3 separate regions of the Homo sapiens genome follow, and regions 2 and 3 are each linked to region 1. Evidence: promoter capture Hi-C in 16 types of primary human blood cells and fetal thymus (Javierre and others, 2016). All regions are on one chromosome and are shown on one strand. The core of a region is centred on a gene start or on the middle of the fragment in contact, and the rest is flanking DNA. Distances in the headings are between cores, read along the strand shown.

Region 1 (3,144 bases), core at 122-2,621:
TGTGCCTTGTGGGCTTCTCTTCATTCTGCCTGGACACCTGGAAGGTTAGTGTCCCCCAAGGCTGTGCCTGAGATTGTCTCCTCCCTCCAGTTCCTGCCGCACTACCTGCCCCCTTAATGGGTATTGGCTCCTTAACACTCCTCAGCCTGGGTGGCTGTCTCAAGCTCTAGCCCTGCACTTTTAGCTGTTTAGTTTGAGCTGGAAGACTCAACTTGTCTGTCTCAAAGATATTTCAAACTCTGCTGACCTAGAACTCACCAGTTCTTATAACTGAATCCATCTTTTTGGTCATTCCTGACTTCATCCTGCAGCTTCACTTTCCTGATAAAGTTTCTAGTTAGTTCAATTAAGTACCTGTTATGGGCAGATAGGAGAGACACCATCAGCCTGAATTGGATGTGGCAAAAGAGGTGGATCAGTGAAACCCTTCTACGGCCATGGAGCATGTATGTCCTATCTTCTCTGTTCAAATTCAGGGCCTCTTTATTTTGTAGCTGTACCATTGCTGTAGCTCCCACTGATCCCCTTGCTTTTGATCTCATCCCTACACCTTCCTCTCCATTCTGTCCAGACTGCCAAAGGACTTTTCTAAGATTGGCTCTTGTTGCCATGATAATAGCACTACCGTGTTCATGGGTACAGTACTTAGCAGCTTTAAAAAGTGCATTCAAGGGCATAAGTGACGACGACTGTTTGTCAGTGCCTACACTGTGCTGGGATTCCAAAAACAGGTAAGCTACTAGATTTGTTTTCAAGAAGCTCAAAGTCTTCAGGGATTAATATAACCAGATAATATAAAGACCCAAGCTTCATTATTTGATCTTTATAATCATCTACAAGGTAGCAGGGAACGTGTTGATAACCTCATTTGTCAGATAAAGAAACCTAAGGCTCAAAAAGGTTATGCAAATAATAATAATAATATTAGCATATGTTTATATAACACTTGTAAAAGCCGGACACTGTTCCAAGCACTTTATATCTACTAATGCAATCTTCATAACAATCCTATGACATGTAAGTGCTCTCACCTTCATAATATACATCGAGAAACTCATTTGTACAGAGTAGTTAAGTTCTTTGAGGTACAGAGAGATTACATAACTTGCCCAAGATCACATGGCTTGTAAATAGGAGAGCTATGATTTCAACACAGGCAGCCTGGCTCCAGAGCCCAAGCACATAACCAGTGTGCTGCATTGCCCTCTTTAATTTATCTTGCTATGCAGTGTGGCTTCTGTTGCCTGCAGAATAAAATTTAAACTCTTTAGCCAGCTAAAATCTCCTTGGTCTTGGCTGCATTTTCAATACTTTTAATTTAGTACTTTCCCAGTATTACCCCAGACTCATTCGATTTTCATATTCTTCACAGCAGTTTGTGAACGGGACATAACAACCTCTGTTCATATTTCTTGCCATAAAGCTATGGCAACAGGGTAGCAGGATAAAAGAGAGCCTGTTTATTTGTTTGTTTAACATAGAGGTCAGTCAGAGACAGAAATGTTTCTTTTTTTTTAGCCTTTGTCAGAAAGAAATACTTCTTTTCATTTCTCTGTATTGGTGGGCAGATATATATATATTTGTCTGAGTTCTTCTCTTCAGTTTTCAGAAGGGGTTGTGGTTCTATTTTCCCATTTCTTGAAGTCCCTGTAGGAATGCTAAAACCCATGTCCTAAGATTACAGTTTTTATAGTTGGTTTGTTCTAATCAATATTCAGATATAGTCCACACATGGCTGGTTGATACGTCTTTTAAATCTTGTTAATCTATAGGTTTTCCTGCCCCCTTTTTGGTTGTTTCCTTGCAGTTTATTTGATGAGGGAATTGGGTCGTCTTTCCTGTAATTTCCCACAATTTGGACTTTGCTGATTACGTCTTTGTGGTGTTGCTTGGCCTCAGTATTTCCTGCAAGTGACAGTTTAATCTAAAAGCTTGATCAAGTTAGAGTCTTTTTTGGTTTTGGCTAGAATACTTCCTAGATGGTGCTTAGAGCTTCCCATCACATTGCTGGGTACTTGGTACTGGGTACTCACATGAGGAAGCACCTAATTCTTGGTTGTTTCTTGTGATGTTACGTTTTGGTCAGTGGTTTCAGATGTTGTTATCTTAAGTCCACCAGCTTTTTGCATAATGGTTTTAATTAGCTAACTTTAAATATTAACATTTGCCCTTCCTGGTACATTGAGTTAAAAGTGATTTTCATTATTTAAATACACACTCTTGTGTGTATGTATGCATATTATGTATGTATGTATGTCTATATATGAGTATATATCATTGTTATAAAAAATAATGGCAATTAAAATTCAATTGGATATTAATGGGTTTAGAGTTTATGTTTGGGATGATGAAATGGGTAATGGTGATGTAGAACATTGTGAATGTACTTAATGCCACTGAATTGTATACTTAAAAATGGTTACAATGGTAAACTTTATGGTATGTATATTTTACCACAATGAAGACAAATCAATTGGAAAGGGATTGTAACACATGGAATTAAAAAAATCCAACACAACATAATGAGTGATAATTATTGCTCCCTAAAAGGAGCCAAAGTGAGTTGGAGAATAGACTGATAAAGTTTCTTTACTGAAGAATGCTAGCTAATAAAGGTAGAAGCTATGCTAGAATTAGAAAAAGGAAAAAAAATTGACTTTGCCACCTGCAAGTAATAATTGATTCAGGCATGGATCATCATTGGATGCTGAAGCCTTTCAGTAAAAGACTGTTGGAATTCCCATTGTCTGAATGCATCTCCTAGTAAATTACTTGCTGTTTACAGAGGGGAAAAAGTACCTTTACAATGGAGAAATCTGCTTCAACCAAGTGATCATCAGCAAATGGGATAAACTAGCATTATGTTACCGACTGATATTATGCATTGGGAAGTATACAACATGAACCTAAAAATGTTCTTGCCAAAAATATTTAATCTGGATCTAATCGTGAGGAAACAATCAGACAAATCCAGAAAGTAGGACATGCTGCAAGACCTCTGGCTTGACTTCAAAAATGTCAGTGTTATGAATGAAGAAGGCTGGAATAAAGGAAACTCCCAAAGAGACCTGATGACCAAATACAATGCTTGAGCCTGGGTTAAAAACAAATAAAGAAAAGAATCGAAACAGCTGGAATATGGGG
Region 2 (3,344 bases), core at 642-3,141, 1.8 Mb before region 1:
TAAATACTCTTTACCTACTACACTATACTAGTGCTAACTTTCAATATCAATATCTTTAAATATCAACATCACCATCCTTCCACATAATCTTTCATTATTTCCCAGGCATTTCCTGTGACTCTTTCCGGGGTTGCCTATACACATCTGATAACATTTACTCTTCTTATCTATCGGATCAGAAAACAGAATTCACCTCACAAGTATTTGATCTAAGGCAGTAACAGAAATTTAGTGCTACATTATACGGTACAATGAGGACATTTAACGTTCAACTAAAGGGCACTCAATGACAAACCCTGATGTAGCTCTGGAAGCAATTACATGTAGCTTTCATCGTAGATTTGTTTGAAAAATATGTCTTTACTGGAGACAGTACATCCACATTCTGTACCCAATTAACATTATTCCAAAATAACTCTTGACCTCGAGAGTATTCCAAAACAGTTACAAGACTTAAAAAAAATCATACAACTAGGGGTATCTAAGACCTGGCTTTGGGGCTCTGCCTACAACGAAGCTGTGTCACCCTGGGTAGGTCATTTGACCCAACATGCCCAGTATCTCCTACTACGTAAAGAAGAAATTGGTCTAAATTTTCTTTAAGGTCTCTTCTAACTCTAACATTCTATGAATGTATGAAATTTCAATCTTTCCCCATTTCAAAGGTAATGGCGGCAGTCAATAACGCCAAGTTAGCCTAGATTTTTTTTTCCTTTTTAGAAAAATGACCCAACTTGGGATGTTTTCTTGGGTTGAAGTTTTATTTAGGAAAATAAACCCCAAATAAAAACGATGTTGAGAAAATGGGCGGGGGGGGAGAAAAGAAAATCATACACTGACGTTAGCTAAAATAGAAACTTCCATCACCCTTAAGCCAGTTTGTCAATAGTTATTCAACGCCTGCTACTCTAATCACTGGCTTCCTAAAATAGAAATATTTATAGTTGTTTCCTTCTCATCCCCGGAGATACATTCCGAATAAAAAGCACAGCGTCTAAAATCAATTTACAACTTCAGAATAAGTTGCAAGGAGCGAAAACAAACTCCGCACAGCTCGCCAAGTCATTTGCATTTAAGTATGATTAGGGCTAAGAAACGGTTCTTATGAGATGCGAAAAAAAAGCACAAGAGGCAGGTGACATCTGGAAAGGGAAGCTGAACTGCCAGGAAGCGATATAAGCTGAGGATCTTAAGGCAACAGGTCCAGGGCCGGCACCGCAGCCTATCCCGGGAGGGGTCGGTGGCTGCTACCTCGCCCGCCGCCCTCCCCAGCCCCAACGACGTCGCCTCGCTCCCGCCCCCCCAAATCCCACGCCCCTGCGGCAGAAATCTCCCTAATCACTCGCCTCCCTGGGCTTCCCGCCCCCGGCAGGCCCTCCGATTCCTCGGCGCCGAGGCCGGCCCGGCCCTGCCGCCCCCTCCCCTCCACGCCGAAGACCCCGCAGCCCCGTCCCCGCCGCGGGCCCGCTCACCTGCACCTGTTTGCGGAAGTGGCGCGGCCCCAGCACTGCCGGCGATCAGGAGGACCAGCAGCAGCAGCAGCAGCCTCCGCCGCAACGCCGGCGGCCCCGGCATCTCGCCCACGGCGCGGCTCCGGGGCCGGCCCTCGAGTCGCCTTCCGTCCGTCCGTCCGTTCGCCCGTCAGTCGATCCTGCCTCCCTCCGCTGCCTCAGTGGCACCCGCGCCGGTTGCTCCCGAGCACACGTTGCTTCTGCCAAACCTCGGTCCGGCTCCCGGTCCGCACCTGCCGCTCCAGTCGCAGAAACACCATCCTTCCCGCCCGCCTGCGCCGCCGCCGCCGCCTCTCAACAGCAGCAACGCCAGCAGCCCTGCGGAGCGGCGGGCCTGGGAAGCCGCGCTCCCGCCGCCATGATGGGCTGCGTCATGTGACGTAGCGCGGGGGCGGGATGTCGTGATGGACAGGGCGGCCAGCCACTCGTCAGTCCACACCGGCCCAGGAGGCCCCGCCCATCATCCTGAAGGAGTGAGCGGTGGCGGCCGGTGCGCCCCCTGCAGACGGAGGAGTGCGTGGGCAGCAGGTAACACCAACAATTATTTTAAATTGAAAAATACAGGAAAATGTAAAGAAGACCATGACAATCATCCTGATATTTTTTTCTCGGTGTTTTATAACATGCAAAAATAGGCCTGTCTTGTCTTCTGCCTTTTTTTTTTTTTTACTTGTCAGAGCTGTTTTAGGCTCTTCTCCTTAAGTTGACCTACACATCCTCTCAGCCATCAAACAGCTTTGGGCTTTTCACTTGAATTGATCAAGAGAATGCCTCTCTCGGCATCACCCACTGACTCACCTCCTGAGCTCAAGCTGTTGCCTCTTGTCCACCTGGCAGACACTCTTCCTTTCATCTGTCGAGACTCACCTGACATATGACTTCATCTATGACTCTCTAGGAGAAATGACTGTCATCTCCTTAGTGCCCCGCCCTGGCCCTGTGTGGACTGCTATCCTAGCTGCAGTATCCTATTGACCCGTGACTGTAAGCTCCCTGAGGACAGCAACTGTGTCTGATTCAGCTGGTGGGAAATCCCTGGTGCAGGACCTGGGTCGGAGCAGGTGTTCTCTAAAGCAATGGTGCATGGCCCTGGTCCCAGGTACCAGGGCAGAGCAGCTCCCAGGGGTGGCCTTCTCCCCACCAAGAGGTGAGGTGAGAACACAGTCCTGCAGAGAGGATAGAGAAAGCACTCTCCAGACACAAGTAATATAGTGGTCAGAGGCATGGGGGTTGGGAAAATGCTAAGCTTTTCTGGAGAGGCGCTATGGTTCAGTGTGTGCATGAGAGGAGCTGATTTCAATCTTATCAGATGAGACTTTGCCACCTGGCAACAGTGTAACCTCCCCAATTCTCCAAACTCCCCAAATGTCCATCCTAAATGCCAGCTGTCGATGATGTTAACACAGCACTGGACACACAGATGATGCCCAGGGAATATTTGTTGGATGATTGAGGCAAGCCAATAAATATCTAAGGAGACAAATACCTGGAACGAGAAACATTGAATTTAAAAGTCCATGGCTTGGCTGGGCACGGTGGCTCACACCTGTAATCTCAGCACTTTGGGAGGCCAAGGTGGGTGAATCACTTCAGACCAGGAGTTCAAGACCAGCCTGGCCAACATGGTCATACCCCATCTCTACTAAAAATACAAAAAGTATTAGCCAGACACGGTGACGCATGCCTGTAATCCCAGCTGCTTGGGAGGCTGAGGCAGGAAAATTGCTCGAACCCAGGAGGCGGAGGTTGCGGTGAGCTGAGATCACACCGCTGCACTCCAGCCTGGGCGACACAGCGAGACTCTGTCTTAAAAAAAAAAAAGTTCACGGCTTT
Region 3 (3,143 bases), core at 259-2,758, 1.9 Mb before region 1:
GGGACTGGGGCTGGGAGGAGCAGGCCAGGCAGCTGCGGCCACCGCCACCCCCACCCAGGACTGGGCGCTAGGTGCCCTCTCGGAAGCTGTGGATCTGCGTGGAGTACCTCTGCAGGTGGCCCTGGGGCTGGGCCTCCGTGGCCCCCAACGCACCCCCAGCCACCTGCTGCTGCTGCTGGTAGTGCTGGTAGAGCTTGGGGCCCGGCCCCTCCAGGCCTGGGAGGCGGCTGCTGGACATGGTCAGGATGGTGGCCGTCAGCGATTTGATGTAGTTCTTGGCCAGCGTGAGCGTCTCGATCTTGGAGAGCTTCTTGTCCGCGCGCACGTGGGGGATGACTTCACGCAGGGCCTGGAAGGCGTTATTTAGCTTGTGCATCCGCTGCCGCTCCCTCTCGTTGCTCTCCAGCCGCCGCTGGATGCTGCTGTCACGACGGCCACCGGGCCCGGAGGGTCCTGGCCGCCTGCGCCTGCCCTCGCCCGGAGCCCTTGCTGCGGCCCGGGCCGGCCGGCTCCGCAGACCCTTGGCCGGCTCTGGCCCCGGGTTCGGCAGGGACCCGTCGGGCGTCCCCTCCCCGGGGGTGGCCTCTGTGTCCTGCACCGGGGCCCGGCGCCGTGGGGGCCGGTTCTTGGTCTTCATGGCCCTGGACTGGCTGTCCTAGGAGGTGGCGGCAGGAAGGTGAGGCCCTTGGAGCTGAAATCCAGAACACAGGACACTCTGTGGTCACCCCACATGGGCAGGGGACCCGCTGGGGTGCCGTCCCTGGCAGCCTCCTCCTTGCTGACAGCAATGGTACCAGGGGCAGGGGTTGGCGCTCTGCGACTGGAGGTCCTTCTGTTCACACGCTTAGCCCTGGGCTGACCCCACACACACCCACGCCCTTGCTTTACCTCAAACAGACCTCTGGAATCTGTCCCTGTCCCTGCGTCCCCCTTCCCCCAGGATGACTCATCCTGACCCCTAGATCTTCCTCTGGCTCATGCCCCTCACTGCCCCCAGAGTGCCTCCTGAGCTCGGTGACCTTTGACACTTTGCCTAGAATGCGTCCCCCACCCTAGCTTAGGGGGCGCCTCTGCCGGAGGCGGCACTGACTTCATCCCGTGGGCGGGCAGTGACTCCAGCCACCAGGCTCTCACTGTCCTGCCCCGCTGGACGTGACACGTGCAGGGACAGCACTGGGGCCAGAACCGCTGCGGACATGGGACAGCACTGGGGCCAGAACCGCTGCGGACATGGGGCAGCCGTGGAGGTCAGAGGTCGGCAATGGCCAGGGCCTGGCGGCAGCCCCCAATCCCACCACGTGGATGGGCCCCGTGGAGCCTCCAGACAGACCAGAAGTCCCCCACCCGGGTTTCCCCACAGCCCCCACAACCCCCACAACCCCACCGCCAGGTCCTGCCCCTGGGTCCCCTCCCCGCGGCCCCACCCGAGTTCCCAGCTCCCGGGTTACCTGGGGATCCGCGGCCACACGCGCCGAGGCTGCCCACGGGGGACAAGGACACGTCGCTTTAGCCGCCCCGGGAGGGGCCGCGGACGCATGCAAATGAGCCCTCGGGGCGGGGCCGGGGCGGGGCCGGGGTCCGGGTGTCCCGGCGGGCGCTGGGCAGCAGTGGCGGCACCTGCGGGCGGGCGGGCGGGAGGCCGGCGCCTGGGGCTCCCGGACCAGGTGGCCGCGCAGCCCCGCCCCCAGCTTCCGCCCCGCCCCCAAGATAGAAAACCTCCCCCGCCCGCCTCTCCCCATCCTCCCCCTACTGCCCCCCACCCTCGTCCCCCAAGACAGCCACCCCCGCCCGCCTCTCCCCACCATCCCCCGACAGCCCCCGACCCTCGTTCCCCCAGACAGCCTCCCCCACACGCTTCTCCCCATCCTCCCCCGACAGCCCCCCAACCGCCCCGAGATAGCTTCCCCCCATTCGTCTCTCCCCATTCTCCCGCTACAGCCCCCCCAAGACAGCCTGCGTCCCCACCTCCCCTACTCCCGTCCCCCGACAGCCTCCCCACAACCTGCTTTTCCCCATCCTCCCCCTCAATTTCCACTCGCGCCTTTCCCACCCGCCTACCCCATATCCGTGCCCGAGACAGCCTCCCCCCGCCCGCTTTCCCCGACCCTCCCCCTGACACAGCACCCCCGCATCCATGCCTCCCGCGATCCTCCTTGCCCGGCCTCTCCACTCGTGGCGGGGCCCGGGCCCATTCCGCCAATGGGAAACAGGTCTCTGGGAGCCGCCGGAAGGAGGGGCAGCCCCGATTCAGGCTCAGCACACAGATCCCAAGTCCCAGGAGCACTCCGGGACGAGCCGCTCCGCGAAAACGCGGGCATCTCCCAGGGGATCCCCCGCCCCGCCGCCCGGGATGTTTAGGGGAACCTGGGGCTCCTACGGGCTGGGGGCGGAGCCCGAGTTGGGGTGGGGGTGGGGGGCTCCTTGGGCAGGTGTGCAGTCCTTGGGAACGCCTGTTTTGTTTGTTTGTTTGTTTTTGAGACGGAGTTTCGCTCTTGCTGCCCAGGCTGGCGTGCAATGGAGCGAGATGATCTCGGCTCACCGCAACCTCCGCCTCCCGGGTTCAAGCGATTCTCCTGCCTCAGCCTCCCGAGTAGCTGGGATTACAGGCATGCACCACCACGCCCAGCTAATTTTTGTATTTTTAGTAGAGACGGGGTTTCTCCACGTTGGCCAGGCTGGTCTTCAACTCCTGACCTCAAGTGATCCACCCGCCTCGGCATCCCAAAGTGCTGGGATTACATGCGTGAGCCACCACGCCCAGCCAAAGCAGCATCTTGCTCAGGGACTATTCGGGGCTGCTAGGGGTGCGGTGACTGCACGCTGCTGGGGGTGCGGTGAGTGTCACGCTGGCTGGCAGGCCTGGGCTCCACACTCATGGGTCTCGCCGCTCTGTCTCAGTACCTCTGGGTGGGAACTCAGAGGGGCCATAGTGGGGCGGGGGGCGGGCACAGAAAGGCTAGCTTGGAGCCAAGGTTAGTTAGTTCTTCTCTTGGCCTAAAGCTCATTTGAGGCTGGGCCAAATGAGGTCCTTGGAAATGAAAATGCTTCCGAAATTCATGAGTGCAAAGGCATGGTTTATAGACATGCTTCAAGGTGGCAGGAACACTAAACAGGTTTGGTTTTCCAGTGGTTATACAAAGCTT

What was found. Contacts are between HindIII fragments. The CHiCAGO score rates a contact against its expected background, and 5 or more counts as called.
Region 2: a contact is called between the fragment with the promoter of LMTK2 here and a fragment that was not itself captured in region 1, in 1 of 17 cell types (neutrophils). The highest score is 6.6, in neutrophils.
Region 3: the fragment with the promoter of BHLHA15 here is called in contact with a fragment that was not itself captured in region 1 in 1 of 17 cell types (M2 macrophages); the score reaches 8.3 in M2 macrophages.

Annotation. Positions count from the first base shown.
Region 1 is chr7:96,310,183-96,313,326 of GRCh38, reverse strand. The region is part of intron 1 of SLC25A13 (solute carrier family 25 member 13); the gene reads left to right. Among named protein-coding and RNA genes, the nearest start is that of SLC25A13, 10 kb to the left of the region's middle. The HindIII fragment of the contact is 1,124 bases long and covers 810-1,933 here.
Region 2 is chr7:98,105,409-98,108,752 of GRCh38, reverse strand. LMTK2 (lemur tyrosine kinase 2) reads right to left here and starts at 1,891. Exons shown (of 14, transcript NM_014916.4): 1 at 1,473-1,891. The coding sequence starts at 1,575. The HindIII fragment of the contact is 4,003 bases long and covers 1-2,759 here.
Region 3 is chr7:98,209,804-98,212,946 of GRCh38, reverse strand. It overlaps BHLHA15 (basic helix-loop-helix family member a15), which reads right to left and starts at 1,508. Exons shown (of 2, transcript NM_177455.4): 1 at 1,449-1,508; 2 at 1-691. The coding sequence starts at 637. The coding sequence ends at 68. RefSeq lists a silencer at 1,447-1,636. The HindIII fragment of the contact is 21,052 bases long and covers 1-3,142 here.